3 separate regions of the Homo sapiens genome follow, and regions 1 and 2 are each linked to region 3. The links are contacts of gene promoters, found by promoter capture Hi-C in blood cells and fetal thymus (Javierre and others, 2016). All regions are on one chromosome and are shown on one strand. The core of a region is centred on a gene start or on the middle of the fragment in contact, and the rest is flanking DNA. Distances in the headings are between cores, read along the strand shown.

Region 1 (3,157 bases), core at 527-3,026, 230 kb before region 3:
GTAGAAATCTATCCTCAAGGAAATAATTTCTCAGTGTTCCATCTGCTATTCTACTACTCCTCAGGGATTATTCAGGCCCCCTCCCTTCCCTACACATCAAGCTCGAGGATTTGCCCCCACCCAGGACTGGCAAATTAGATTTACTCAACATGCCCCGAGTCAGAAAACTAAAATACCTCTTAGTCTAGGTAGACACTTTCACTGGATAGGTAGAGGCCTTTCCTACAGGGTCTGAGAAGGCCACCGCAGTCATTTCTTCCCTTCTGTCAGACATAATTCCTCAGTTTAGCCTTCCCACCTCTATGTAGTTTGATAACAGACCAGCTTTTATCAGTCAAATCAGCCAAGCAGTTTTTCAAGCTCTTAGGATTCAGTGAAACCTTTATATCCCTTATGGTCCTCCATCTTCAGGAAATGTAGAACGGACTAAAAGTCTTTTAAAAACACACATCACCAAGCTCAGCCACCAACTTAAAAAGGACTGAACAATACTTTTACCACTTTCCCTTCTCAGAATTCAGGCCTGTCCTCGGAATGCTACAAGGTACAGCCCATTTGAGCTCCTGTATTGACGCTCCTTTTTATTAGGCCCCAGTCTCATTCCAGACACCAGACCAACTTAGACTGTGCCCCAAAAAACTTGTCATCCCTACTATCTTCTGTCTAGTCATACTCCTATTCGCCGTTCTCAACTACTCATACATGCCCTGCTCTTGTTTACACTGCCAGTTTACACTGTTTCTCCAAGCCACCACAGCTGATATCTCCTGGTGCTATCCCCAAACTGCCACTCTTAACTCTTGAAGTAAATAAATAATCTTTGCTGGCAGGACTATGCTGAATCTCCTTAGGCACCCTCTAATCAGATGTCCTAGGTCCTCCCAATTCTTAGACCTTTTATACCTGTTTTTCTCCTTCTCTTATTCCATTTAGTTTTTCAATTCATATAAAACCATATCCAGGCCATCACCAATAATTCTACAAGACAAATATTTCTTCTAACAACCCCACAATATCACCCCTTACCACAAAATCTTCCTTCAGCTTAATTGCTCCCACTCTAGGTTCCCACGCCACCCCTAATCCCGCCCGAAGCAGCCCTGAGAAACATCGCCCATTATCTCTCCATACCACCCCCAAAAATTTTCACTGTCCCAACACTTTACCACTATTTCATTTTATTTTTCTTATTAATATAAGAAGACAGGAATGTCAGGCCTCTGAGCCCAAGCTAAGCCATCATATCCCCTGTGACCTGCATGTACACATCCAGACGGCCAGTTCCTGCCTTAACTGATGACATTCCACCACAAAAGAAATGAAAATGGCCTGTTCCTGCCTTAACTGATGACATTGTCTTGTGAAATTCCTTCTCCTGGCTCATCCTGGCTCAAAAGCTCCCCCACTGAGTACCTTGTGACCCCCATTCCTGCCCGCCAGAGAAAAACCCCCTTTTTCCTTTACCTACCCAAATCCTATAAAACAGCCCCACCCCATCTCCCTTCACTGACTCTCTTTTCGTTCTCAGCCTGCCTGTACCCAGGTGATTAAAAGCTTTTATTGCTCACACAAAGCCTGTTTGGTGGTCTCTTCACATGGACACGCATGAAAATATGGATCTGAGGAAACATGGGTCTAAGGTGTACCAGCTTATCAGCATTGTTTTTGGTAAATGGTGAGATTGATGGTTTGCACCTGTTGTTATTGAGATCCCTAAAGGCTCTGTTACTGATTAGATTGCAAAAAGATGCCTATGTGACCAGTATGATATAAAAAGGTCAGCCCAGACTCCTGGTTCCTGGATGTTAGATGTACATATCAGTCATTCCTGACTGGAGAGAAAAAGTGCATTCTAGCACAGGCCTGCAGAGGGAGGACAATTGGAACCAGCTTCTCCACTTTTTGGAAAGCAGCCTTTGGCTGGGATATATAGATTACTTTAATGCCATTGCTCTATTGTATCTCTTCCCAGCAATAAACCATAAATCCACAAGCTTTGACGTTTTTGGACATATTTTGGACCTATATTAGCCAAATACCTTCTCTCTGCTACTATTTGTGTCATTGGGCTTCACAAGATCATCCCAGCTAATAAAATACATAAATATCTAGCAAACACACACGAACGATACCTGAAAATTTATAGATGTTATCAATGTGTAGAAATAGATCATCACTGGTTATTTTAAAATGCTATTGTGCTTAAAACATCATCTTATTCATGACACATATTTTGAATTTAGTAATGTGTGAAAGTCATTATAAGGATTCCATGGAAAAAGTAGCCCACCATATCAAATAGAGTAAGGCATGATATTCAAAAGTCAACATCAGAAGAGTTAAAGACCTAACTGGGAAAGTAAAGACTGAAATGAAATTAAGGAAAATGTAAGAGATTATCTTTATAAGCCTACGAGTACAGAAGGGCTTCTGAAACAGGAGGCCCAAAATCAAAACAATAACGTGAAAAGGTGGCATACTCAATTACATCAAAATTAAGGTTGAACAAGATTAGTAGAAAATATAGAGCCTAAACAAGTCAAAAGATTTTATTTCTATATGAATAGAAACTCAGGTAGATCATTTAGAAAAAGAAGGAAAACCAGAGAGACTGAAACCCACTGGTAATCAGATTAATGAAAACTGAAATGATGACATACCATTTTGTATTTCTCAGATTGGCAAAACATAGACTACAAAAACACCAAATGTTGAGAACTATGTGGATAAATGAGGAGCCACTGCATTGCTAAGGGTCACATACTCTGGCAACAATTTCAGGAATGGTAACAATTTCATGAATAGTAACCTGATAGTACTCAGAGAATTTATGATCCAAAAAGATCATTCCTGCATTTATATTGCAGAGAAACTCACATGTATGTCCATAAGGGTAGTGAGCAAGGATAATCATCATTTTGCTTGCATAGTCAAGAGTTTGAGGCAACAGTGGCGTCTATCTACAGGGCATCTTATAATAAAATGTGGTAGATACACACAATGGAATACTATGTAGCAACTAGAAACAATGAATGAGATATACATATACCAACATAAATAGATCTTAAAACACATGGAGTTAAAATATGCAAAAAATAGAATTCAGTCTATGGTACAAAGCCATCGATGCAAATAAAAAAGCAAACATGCACTTCAA
Region 2 (3,127 bases), core at 33-2,532, 190 kb after region 3:
ATATATATACACAAATACACATGTATAGTTGATATATTGTATAATTTTAAACAGTAGATTGCAAAAATCTTAAATGCAGTTAATTAAATTTGTATCTATCTATATAGCACCTAGTTATATATGTAACCAGCACCCAGATTAAGATATAGGACATTTGCCCAAAAAATTCCCTCATGCTTAGTTGTACCTACACCTTCTAGTAACTGCTATTCTGACTTCTATAAACATAGATTAGTTTTGCTTATTCTTGAACTTCATATAAGTGAAATACAGTATTTCTTTATATATCTGGCTTCTTTTAATTTTTTTTGTTTTTAATTGTTGTGGATACATAATAGTTGTATATATTTATGGGATACATGTGATATTTTGATATAAGTATACAATGTGTAATGATCAAATCAGGGTAATTGGGATATCTATCACACCTCAAGTATGTGTCATTTCTTTGTGTTAGGAACATTCCAATTCCACTCTTCTAGTTGTTTTGAAATATGCCATGAATTACTGCTAACTACAGTTGCCCTGTTATACTATTGAACATTAGACCTTATTCCTTCTATTGGTGTTTTTGTGCCCATTAACAACCACTCTTCATCCCAGCCTCTCCACTGCCCTACTCAGACTATGGTTAACCAGCATTCTACTCTTTATCTCCATGATATCCACTTGTCTTTGGCTCCCACATATGACTGAGAACATGTGATATTTGTCTTTTTGTTCCTGACTTATTTCACTTAATATCTTCCAGTTCCATCCATGCTGTTGCAAATGGCAGGATATCATTTTTATGGCTGAGTAATACACCATTGTATATATGTACCACATTTTCTTTATCCATTCATCCATTGATGGACACTTAGGTTGATTCCATATCTTGGCTATTGTGAATAATGCTGCAACAAACATGGGAATGCAGATAGCTTTTCAATATACTGATTTCCTTTATTTCAGAAATATACTCAGCAGTGGGATTGCTGGATTACACAGTAGTTGTATTTTTAGTTTTTTGAGAAACCTCGATACTGTTCTCCACAGTGGCTGTACTAGTTTACTTTCCCACAAACAGAGTACAAGGGTTCTCTTTTCTCCACATCCTTGCTAGCATTCATTATTGATGTCTGGCTTGTTTTTATGAATGTAAGGTTTTGAAGATTGTTTCATATTTGTGTGTATCCATACTTCATTTATTTTTAATGCCCCAATAGTATAATATTGGATTTGTTTCCTTTCTTACTGAATTTTTTTCAACTTTTAGCTACTATGAATAAAACCAATACGAAGATTTTGTGTGTGTGTGTCTTTTTATGGGCATATGACTTCATTTATCTTAGGTGTATAGCTAGAAGGACTGCTGAATCATTTATACATATTTAGCTTTAGTGGATACTGCCAAAGTTCTCCAAAGTGGTCAAACATTTCACACTTCTCCCAGCAATGTATGAAAAAAATGCTCCACCAAAAAGGGTAAGAATATTTAGTTTAGAAATAATTATACACACAAATATACACAAATATACAAAAGCACACCTCCCTCTAAGTTTTTGTTTATTTTTTTAAACATTTTTGGTGTGGCTATATTATTTGTTCTTCAATTCAGAAGCAAGTTGAGACAGCAATCCAAATAAAGCAAATTGAAAGGTCAAAACCTAAGAGGAACATATTTTAAAGTCTTCTCCATAGTGTAGACCAGTGTTTCCTCAAATCTGTCCCACAAAAATATCAATAGCTATTCTATTAAAACCATATCAAATAAGTTTGGAAATGAAACACACTATATATTTTCCGTACTATAAATGAACCACCATTTAAATTACTATATTAGAGGTTCAGGGAAGTCCTATAGTAAAGACATCTACTTAACTTTGTTTAGCTTATTGCTTCATCAACCAATGGGTTTATTTGACCATGGAACTGTATTCTACTCTTTTTTAAGTGTGCTTATTAATATCTTTGAGAATAACATATTTGTCTTTCTTTGAATGAATCTTCAGACTAATGTGAAATTCCATTTGATTTAGTGGTAATTCCTAAATTAGTGATATGTTTTCCTCAAAAAATAAAAATTATACCAATCCCTGAGATTTTTAAAGCTCTTGGAAACAGATAAGACAGTGGCGGGGTGATTACTGTGCCTGGCTGTTACATTTATAAAAAACATGGTAACCATGCTACCTATCAAGGCCCAGTCAGCAATACCTCTCTTTTACTAACCAGCTATTCTTCAAAGCTCCCAGTAATATATAATGTGACATGATATATTTGCAAGTATACTTTCTGAGTGAATTAATAGATATGTGATAAAAATACCAATTACTACTTCCCTGGAATCACCTGTAGCAAGGGGTATATGATATGAGGAACTGTACAAAGTTATACATGGGATCCTTAAAAGAGCAAAAATAGGGAAAAACCGTAGAACAAAAGTGTTAGGGTAACATTCATCCTTCTCCAAAATGAACAAGGTTACAAAATGGTATGTGTTGCTCACAAGAGAAACTACAGCCTTGCAAAATGATTACTGTATGAGAAGTGAATGAGAAATTTAACTATCCCAAGCAAATTTAGTTTCATTTATCCAGTATCCGTCTTGTAAAATAGCTTCATAAATTTTCCTCTTATTCTTCAAAGTAAATTCTACTAAATCTAGTTTAACATTTCAAAAGTAGATCCAGGGACAAATCCAAGAAAAATAGCCCAATTTAAAAGGAAAATGTGAAACCGATTTCACAACTAAGTGTGAGTCCTCAGACATTTTTTTTGAACATTAACCACAATAAGTCCACTGAAAACAATGAGCACAGACAGTAGCCATCACACTAAAAAGAAAATCACTCACAACGAGGTGACTTAGATACCTGGCTGGGATTCTCACTTTTTTGAAATGAGACCACAGTTTCGATTTCAAGGCATACAATTTCTTGTAATAATTTTCATTTGGCATTTTCCGCCTGGGTTAACAGATCATTCCCAATTCAACCCAAGTGCAAATGTAAACTTCACTTACCTGCACAAAACCACATGCTGTGAAGGCCTCAAACAAGGGCAGACTTGGGCGGTCTTCTCTATAGATGGTGAGTTTGTACGTGATCAGAGTCTCACCGTGTGCTGGAGATTCATCCACAAC
Region 3 (3,110 bases), core at 323-2,822:
CGACAGCGCATCCTTCAGCGCCCCAGTCCTAACATTCTTTGGATCTGTTGATATTCCAGGAACAATCCTGGCTCCCTGTACCTTTATCCTTACCAAGTCACTACGCACGTGGAAGTGGAACTTTGTTTTCCTGCAGCTTCCCGCGCCGCGGGAGTGCGCCGAGGAGGGAAAGATAGAAAAGCCAAAGAAACGAGAAGCGCACAAGTGGTCCTGCTCAGGTTAGCCGCACGTTGGGTGGTCGCGGACAGTCGCTTTAAAAGTCACCATTATTCTGTCAACTCGGTGCTCCTAGGAGCCAATAAAGGTGGGGCTTCGCTGCAATTAGCCACTTGTCCGGGGTTTGGTGCGCAGCGGAGTTGGTTAAATCAAAGCAGATGCGGCAGCCGCATTCCCCGCTGCCGACATCATGTTTCTCCAGCTGGTCACCCACGTAGGGGGGCGCTACGGGGTCCGAGGGGGTCGGCGGGGTAGGAGAATTAGAGTTTTTTTTCCAACTCTGGCGGGGCACCGCAGGAAAGAGGAAGAGCTCCAGCCCCTAGAGCTCCGCTCTGGAACTGGGGAGTCACCTCCCTCCAGGCTCGCACCTGCTCCCCAGGTCTGGCCTTTGTAGCTCTCAATCCCCGTGCACTAAAGGGCTTCTTCTGGAACTTAGAGAGCTACAGGACCACGTAGCACTATTTACTTTATTTGCAGGAACCGGTGGAGGAGTTGTCGCCTTCCGTCCCCCACCAACCCCTAAGGACCCAGGACTCACCGCTGCTCAGCTCGTAGCCAAAGAGGGGGCTGGCGCCCATCGGGGCGGTAGTGGCGGCGGCGGTGATCATGCAGTTCCATCTCTCGTGTCTGAACTGGCTCCCGCACTCCTGAATGCCCAGCCGGGCGCCCTCTCGGATGCTCGGCAGCAGGTACGGTTTCCTCTTGCACAGCTCCTTCTGGCGGCTGTTCAGCGGCAAATTGGCGCAGCCCAGCTTCTCTGGAACCCCGAAGGAGGCAATGCCCAACCACCTGTAAGACACGGCCGCCCGTAGCGTTAAGCCGCTCCCCAATTCCAGATGTTTTCCGAAAAATTAGGTCACTCGTCTAAGGGTCCCCGCCCTTCTCCCCCAGCCTCAGTTGAAAGTTCCCTAGGATTGGGCACCCCTTTTGCCACCTACCCGATGCTTCCCTGCCACCTCCATACTCACATCCAGTTTCCTTGGGCTCCGTAGGGGAACAGCACGAGCAGGGCTGCCCACAGCGCGCACAAGCGGGCCAGTCCCAGGAGCGCCGCCCTGTCCATCGCCCCCGCATGGAGTCCCCCAGCCCAGCCGCTCCTCTTTTGCACCCCCTCCCCAGAGGCCCTTCGGGCCGCAGGTCAGTTGTCCAGCACCAAGTTATCCCTCGCCCTCTTCCTCCTTGCATACAACATTAAAAGGCCAGCAGTGATAGGGACTCTCAGCAGCTTCCCCCTCGTTTGCAGGGAGCTGTAGGAGAGATGGAGAGAGCAGCCTGGGGATCTCCTCCTGCGCAGGGGTGGAGATGTGCAGGAGATGCGGGAGCGCCCCTCGCATTCCTAGGTGAGAAACTTCTGTTGATGTATCCGCGTCTCCATCGCCCCCGGCCTCTCCTCCCATCTCCTCCCCCTGGCCGCGCCTGGAGCCTGATTGGCTGAGCAGCGGCCCCGCATCTCATCATCTCGGGACCTCAGGCTCTTATTGGTGGAGAGCGGCTCCGCGGGGGGCGCTCCGGGCACTGGCCTCAGGGACAGCGTGTCCAGACCTGGGTGTGTCATGACCTTTCCTGCTGTCACAGTCTCCTTAGAACGGGTCGTTGTGGGGTTGATTCAACCCGAAGACTAACAGGACGCTCTGTCTTAGCAACCTTGGGGGAAAGCGTGGGTTTGATGAGTCCCACCCATCCCACCAACATCTGGGTTACCCTCTGGGTGTAGTGGCTGGAAAATGTCACTGACCTTTTTTTCTTCTCCTTCACCTCACAGGAGAATAATCTTTTTGAGTCAGAGTTGGTACCGAACAAATTAACCTTCCAGTCCCCTGCTTGAGGTCCCACTGTCAGGAGACTTTAGAGAGTGGGTGAAGTGCTGTCAGGCTTACAATCACTGTCATTTATGTATGCATTTATTTTGAGCGAAAGAGAAGATTCCAGTCTAGCATCTCATCTGCCATATTTCAATCGTGCTCTGTGATTTCCTTTTCCCTATTTGTCTTATTTCCTGCAGTCCCTGAGAACGCTGTAAGTCCCCTGCAGAAGATGGGGACAAAGAAAGTGAGAGGTTTCTGGAGAGTTCTAGAGTACATGAGAGATGTGCTCTGATCTTTTTCTCCAGTCCTACCTTACGATTCTCATGGTGGGAGGGTCCCTGCCCTTCTCCCCCAACCTCAGTTGAAAGTTCGCTAGGATTGGGCACCCCTTTGCCACCTACCCGATGCGTCCCTGCAGGACAGGGCTACACATGGAAGACACATTTTTAAAAACGTACTTATTAAATACCTGCTGTGTGCCTAGTCCTGTGGGAATTTATAAAGACAAGCTCTCTTCCCACAACTGTACAAATAAACCATACACAAGTGTAAAAGAAAATACGTTTAGATGATCAGTAAGAGAGATTAAAGAATCTAGCAGGGTACTCCCTGGAGCCGAAGATAGTTCAGAAGCAGGAAGTGTTCCAGTTACTGGCAGATTTGGAAGGTTAGTTAATCAGTGTTTTGTAGGATGGAAGGTCTCCGAGAGTTATCTGAAGGCAAGTGCAACGTGTTTAGCTGTGGTATTGGGAAAGCCTGCCTCACCTAATTAGACACAAGAAATGTTTCTAAGAAGCATTATCTGTCCTTAGAGATCTTTTGAAGTGTTAATACATTCCCATGGTGGACGTATCAGCTCAGTGGGTACCCAAAGCCAAAATTACTTAAATAAAGGATTTGGGGCCAGGTGCAGTGGCTCACACCTGTAATCCCAGCACTTTTGGAGGCCAAGATGGGCGGATCACCAGAGGTCAGGAGTTCAAGACCAGCATGGCCAACATGGTGAAACCCTGTCCCTGCTAAAAATACAAAATTATTTGGGTGTGGTGGTGCATGCCTGTAATCCCAGCTACTCGGGAGGCTAAGACA

What was found. The method cuts DNA at HindIII sites, captures the fragments that hold promoters and counts their contacts. A CHiCAGO score of 5 or more calls a contact.
Region 1: a contact is called between a fragment that was not itself captured here and the fragment with the promoter of WNT16 in region 3, in 6 of 17 cell types (non-activated CD4 T cells, naive CD4 T cells, activated CD4 T cells and 3 more). The highest score is 7.2, in non-activated CD4 T cells.
Region 2: a contact is called between a fragment that was not itself captured here and the fragment with the promoter of WNT16 in region 3, in 2 of 17 cell types (total B cells and naive B cells). The highest score is 15.6, in total B cells.

Annotation. Positions count from the first base shown.
Region 1 is chr7:121,562,101-121,565,257 of GRCh38, reverse strand. No RefSeq gene overlaps it. Among named protein-coding and RNA genes, the nearest start is that of FAM3C, 170 kb to the right of the region's middle. The HindIII fragment of the contact is 440 bases long and covers 1,557-1,996 here.
Region 2 is chr7:121,142,022-121,145,148 of GRCh38, reverse strand. It overlaps CPED1 (cadherin like and PC-esterase domain containing 1), which reads right to left. Exons shown (of 23, transcript NM_024913.5): 16 at 3,008-3,127. It overlaps LOC124901735 (a long non-coding RNA gene), which reads left to right. Exons shown (of 3, transcript XR_007060494.1): 3 at 1-1,285. Among named protein-coding and RNA genes, the nearest start is that of CPED1, 150 kb to the right of the region's middle. The HindIII fragment of the contact is 7,707 bases long and covers 1-3,127 here.
Region 3 is chr7:121,327,462-121,330,571 of GRCh38, reverse strand. It overlaps WNT16 (Wnt family member 16), which reads right to left and starts at 1,572. Exons shown (of 4, transcript NM_057168.2): 1 at 1,185-1,572; 2 at 755-1,005. The coding sequence starts at 1,279. The HindIII fragment of the contact is 8,913 bases long and covers 1-3,110 here.